Regions from separate parts of the Homo sapiens genome. Here region 1 is linked to region 2. The links are contacts of gene promoters, found by promoter capture Hi-C in blood cells and fetal thymus (Javierre and others, 2016). All regions are on one chromosome and are shown on one strand. The core of a region is centred on a gene start or on the middle of the fragment in contact, and the rest is flanking DNA. Distances in the headings are between cores, read along the strand shown. Region 1 has its middle 22 kb from the start of NUDT11. Region 2 holds the start of NUDT10 (nudix hydrolase 10).

Region 1 (2,732 bases), core at 180-2,679, 140 kb before region 2:
TTGAATTTTTTCTTCCATTTTCCTGATCCGAACTCAATGAAATCGCTACTACATTGTTCCTTGTAACACAGGCAAGAAAAACATGTCAGGCTGCCACAACTTTCCTCCTCTGTAACTAAAGATGCTGTGAGTCTAACATCTGGAAAATTGTGCCCAACATTAACCTTTATTTTTCTTCTGTTTCCATAGACATGCCTCTTATCAAAAATCTGTTTGCCTTCATCACATACAGAGGCCTAGCCCATCTGCAGTGCTACCTCCTGGATAGAACACAGCTATTTAACTAAACTAATCCATTCTCATGGACTAGACAGGGCTTATGGCCACCTTCATGAGTGTTCATAACTCTTCCTGTAACCTTTTAAATACATATTTAGCCATCCTGTCATTATATCCAGTTACAATTGGCAGTGGGGAACCTGAATGATAATTAAGAGTAGCTGCTGTATATACATCCCTGATAATTTGGGAAAAATGTCTCTAGCTTTGCAAGACATGCACCAACAACTCAAACCTATGTCTGACATAATATTGTCAATAGACCAGTGGTCAGTATTCTGGTTCAGGTCAAGACCATCTTGGTAGAAAAAGCTGCTTGTAACATTGGCCTTGATTGCAGGGATAGGCATATTCCTCTGTTGTGGAGTTTACTGCAGTTGCACACTCTGTATGGAAATGCAAGACAGGCTTTCCCAAAGACTCTTCAAACTTCACACCGTAATGTTCCAACAAACATCATCTGTAAGTCTGGGTACTTGTGAATATTTCCAACTCCAAGTAGATCAGTTTCATTTTGACAAACAATGACTATGCCCTTTCTCAGCAGGAAGTAGCCAGAGTGAATGTGGCACCCAAATCCCATAGAAGTAAAACGGAACCTGACAGTGGGAAATTATAATTGAGTATACTCATATTTCTAAGAAAAAGAAAATGAGTTATTATTATTATTTTCTCTTATTTTATCAATTTCCCCATTCCCCACTTCTTACGTAGCCCTTTAGAAATGCAGTTATAACCTTTTATCTCCCCTACATCAGACGCTCCCTACAGGGCAAGTTCATCTAACCATGTTCTTAGAAGCTCCAGAGCAGAATTCTCTCCCACCAGGAGACTGCCTTGAGGGACAACAGTCAATTTACAACCCTTAGTATGCCTGCTATGACACTCTCTCCCACCTGGAAAGTTTCGGCCACCTTTACAATCTCGTTCTGCTCACAAAGGCACCAGTTCACTGCCTGGTAGATAAGGCACCAAAGTGAGCATGCAGACCCCTACCTGTTTGCTTCCTCCCCTGCGTGCCATTCATGCTGGGTCCCTTTTTAAAAGTGTCAATTTTCTGCTCCAAAAGTGAATTTGTACCTCTATGGCAGGAAGCCTGTATTTCTTCCCCTAAGCTAGCTTTGGAATAAAAAGTCACTTTCTTTATACCAGACCTTGCTCTTGTTAATTGGACTCTGCAAATGGCAGTGTCTGAACCTGCATTTTTGTTATAGTTATATGAGGATCTTGGTGAACCCATTTCCCAGAGAAACACCATTATTTCGTGACAGCTATGTATATACGCACACATGCATGCACATGCACACACACAAAGTCTTTAGAAATTGTCATAAGGGCATATAACAAATGAAGAAGTATTTAAGAAAATTACTAAATCTTGGCAAAAATGGTTAGAATCTGTGACATTTGAGCTACAAGCTGTTCTATCTCCCCCAGCCCCATGTGACAAGCTCTACTCTAGACCTCTACTACATGTGCTACATGTGGATATGACCAAGAAGATGGGGGCCTCTATCCCCCAAGTTCCTAGTCCATAGTTTGACCCAGGAGGAGAAAGCCACCAGTGTCTTATCCCTCCACAGCGCCATTTTGCAGAAGTCCTAGTCGAGGCAGGCAAGTCTGGGCTAGAGGACTAGCTCCTACTTGTAGGGTGAGGCCTCTGCCTCAGCTGTGATAGGCTAAGACTAGTGGGTTCCCAATCTCCTATGTGCCAGTGTATTTGTAAGGTAAAGTTTCTACATGGAGACTGGCAAGCTGAAATGACCAGAGGCTACCATCTCTCCTCAGTGTCCACTAATAGAGTAAGGTGTTACTGGAGAAGTGGTCTACTATACCCACACCCAGCTCAGGTACACTTGTCCAGAGTTTCTATATATGTAGAAAGGCAGGGCATAAAGCATAGCATCTCTGCCTGAAGGGACTGAATTTATGGGGAACAAAATCTGGAGAAGTTAATGCCTGAAAGCATTGTTGAAAACAGTGAGTATCTTAATGGTGAGCAATTAAGAGGGGCTTGGTGGTTCCATGCTACTAGTAGCAACAAGGGAACAACACTATAAAACAGTTTAAACTAAGAGACATCTAAAGACCACTCCACCCAACAGCAATAAAATATATATCCCCTTCAAGTACATGTAACTTTCTGCAAAATAGATCATATGCTAGGCCATAAACATGCATCAATAGATTTAAAAATACTGAAATCATACAAATTATATTCTCTAACCAAAGTGGAATTTAGAAATCAATGACAGAAAGAAACATGTGAAACTCACAAATATGTAGAAATTAAACAACACATTCCTGTGGGTCAAATAAGAAGTCACAGTGGAAATTAAAGAATATTTCGAGATGGATGTAATCAAAACACCAAAGCAAGAAGCAGCTAAAGCAGTACTTACTGGGTAATTCATTTAAATCTCCACAAAAAAAGAGCAAACAAAACAAGATAA
Region 2 (2,700 bases), core at 24-2,523:
GTCGAGTGCAGAAAGAGCACAAGATGTAGGATTTCCTAATGTTTTTACGAATTCAAAACTGATTTTTTAAACCAACTCCCACCACAGAAGGCCTCCCTGACAACAAGGGCGAACGCTGTGAAGGAGAAAACAACTCAAGGGAAAAAAATACTAAAAGATGCCACACAACCAAGCTGGTCAGACTTTAAAGGCCTCCACTACCAAACAAACCACAAGGCTGGTATCAAAAATGTGCACGCACCCACGAATATGTGTGAAATATAAAAGAACCAAAAACATCACAGGGCGCACAGGCAGACACACACACTCCCCGCCCACCCCTCGCCCCCCACCCCCCCCCCCCCCGCCCAAAAGCAGGGTGAACAGTTACAGCACCTAAAACCCCAAGCGGCATAGGCTTCTCCGAAACATTTTACAGGGTAACCAAGAAGCGATTTTGAAAGCAACTGAAAAACGTGCCAACTGAAAACAGGGCCTGGCAACAGTTTGCAAGCGTGATTCAGAGGGTCTGCCAAGGAAACAAAAGCCTCCCTCCTGCCCATGAGACCGCACATGGTACGAGAGGTGCTCCAGGCGGGATGCATTTTAAGCAAGGCAGACAAACAGAAGTCTGTGCGGGCGCAAGCGGTACATACTAGGGATCGCTATCTGGCGAGGATGGGGCCATGGAGTTTCCATTGGTTGGGGAACCGCCCAGCTTTAGTTTCTCCAGATATTCGGCGTGCACGGGCTTGTGGCACTGGAGAACCTTGATGGCATCTTCGACTTTGAACCACTCTCGCTTCCTCCCAATGCTAACCGAATCTTCCCAATCCTCCAGCAGCTCCGTGACAGTCAGTACATACACGTACGTTCTGTGCTTGGGGTCCTGGTTCTGTTCGAAGACGCCCAGGAGCCGGCCTAACTTCCCCTTGACTCCCGCCTCTTCGTACACCTCTCGGACCGCCGCACCGCCCGGCTCCTCCTCGGGCTCCATGCCCCCGCCCGGCACGATCCAGCGGTCCGGGTACCGGCTGCTACTCACTAACAGGACCTCGTCCTCGCGCTCGCTCCGGAAGCACAGGCACGCCGCCCGCTTCTTGAACCCCTCGGGGTCGTAGGTCCGTGTCTGGTTGGGTTTGCACTTCATCCTCGAGGCAGCCTCCTCTCGCCTCTCGCTGCTGTGTGGGCCGCCGACGCAGCTGCTGCCGCTGCCGGGCAGCAGCCGAGGTGCTGGGAAGAGAAAGGGCCGAGGAGAGGGGCGGGGAGAGAGAGGCGCCTCCGTCTGCCGTCTGCCCCCGAGCCCGGGGAGCGGAGGGAGAGATGAAGCTGGGCGGGGCACGGGCGGAGGCGGGGGCAAGCGAGGCGTGTCAGTCAGCCAGTCCGCCAGTCCGATGGGCGGCCGGCCGAACCCGGGCCCGCCGGAGTGGAGGAGGCGCTGCTGCCCGCGAGCCCGCGACTCTCCACAGAGCCCACCCGCTTCTGCGAGGTGAAGCGCATTCTCGGGCGCGTCCGCGCTCCCGTTCACGTGCGCGTTCGCAGGGGAGGGCGTGGGCTGAGGGGCGAGGAACCGGGGCGAGGGGCCAGGGGCGGGGGTCTCCTGGCTCCCGCAGCGCGCAACGCCTGGGGCCCACTGCGCAGGCGCTTCGCACTCCTGGGGCCAGGAACCTCCTTGGCGCACAGCGAAATTCACCGCATTGTGACTTTGGCCAAGACTGCCTCCATGTGTGCCTTTGACCCAAACTCACTGTGGCACGGCAGGACGTTTCTCCTCTCACTCCCCACTGCGCTGCAGGAAACCCACAGGCAGTTGTTTCACACAAGACAGGGGCAAAGGCAGCGTCGTCATCATCCTCCCCCACTATCAACCATTCTGGCTTACTCATGGGACCTGGGCCCTAGTGTTGTCTGCACAACCCACGGGATTCTTGGCACAGTAGCCGGGCATCTTTGCTGAGTCACATGATGCAGTTTTATTTCTTCAACAGGTTCCCACCTTGCAGAGCATCTTGGCGCAGCCAGTAATTTAACGCTTTTCTTAAACCCCTGTTCACAACCTGCCTGACCTCCCTGCACCTCAGTTTCCTCATGGGTACACTCCTCGCCTCCGTGTTGCAGCCATTTGCACTTCGATGCAGTACACCTTAAAGACCAGAGCACCACCCATCTAGTAGTCCTGCGTTAAAGCCCAGAGACGTTCTCCTATTCTCCACACACTCCACCCTTCTCTATCTTTCTCTTTGATAAGCACCACTTGGTGTTTGGGAAACCATGCACATGGAGATCCCGTCCTATTTCACAATTTTATTTTATTTTATTTTTTGAGATGGAGTCTCACTCTGTCGCTCTGTCGCCCAGGCTGGAGTGCCGTGGCACGATCTTAGCTCACTGCAACCTTCGCCTCCTGGGTTCAAGCGATCCTCCTGCCTCAGCCTCCTGAGTAGCTGGGATTACAGGCGGGTGCCATCACGCCTGGCTAATTTTTGTAGCTTTAGAAGAGACGGGTTTCACCATGTTGGTCAGGCTGCTCTTGAACTCCTAACCTCGCGATCCGCCCACCTCGGCCTCCCAAAGTGTACTATTAACCACCACAAAACAAATAAAATACTAAGGGGTCCTAAAAATGTGGTTAGGACTTAGTAGTACAAAATGGTTGAACTTCTACTCAGAGCTTTGAAACATGATTTGAATGAATCACGAGACACTCTAGCAAAACTAGCA

The links. Contacts are between HindIII fragments. The CHiCAGO score rates a contact against its expected background, and 5 or more counts as called.
Region 1: a contact is called between a fragment that was not itself captured here and the fragment with the promoter of NUDT10 in region 2, in 1 of 17 cell types (naive CD4 T cells). The highest score is 5.1, in naive CD4 T cells.

What each region holds. Positions count from the first base shown.
Region 1 is chrX:51,472,847-51,475,578 of GRCh38, reverse strand. No RefSeq gene overlaps it. Among named protein-coding and RNA genes, the nearest start is that of NUDT11, 22 kb to the left of the region's middle. The HindIII fragment of the contact is 3,535 bases long and covers 1-2,732 here.
Region 2 is chrX:51,331,395-51,334,094 of GRCh38, reverse strand. NUDT10 (nudix hydrolase 10) reads right to left here and starts at 1,273. Exons shown (of 2, transcript NM_001304963.2): 1 at 636-1,273. The coding sequence starts at 1,129. All of the region lies in intron 4 of LOC105373204 (a long non-coding RNA gene), which reads left to right. The HindIII fragment of the contact is 9,034 bases long and covers 1-2,700 here.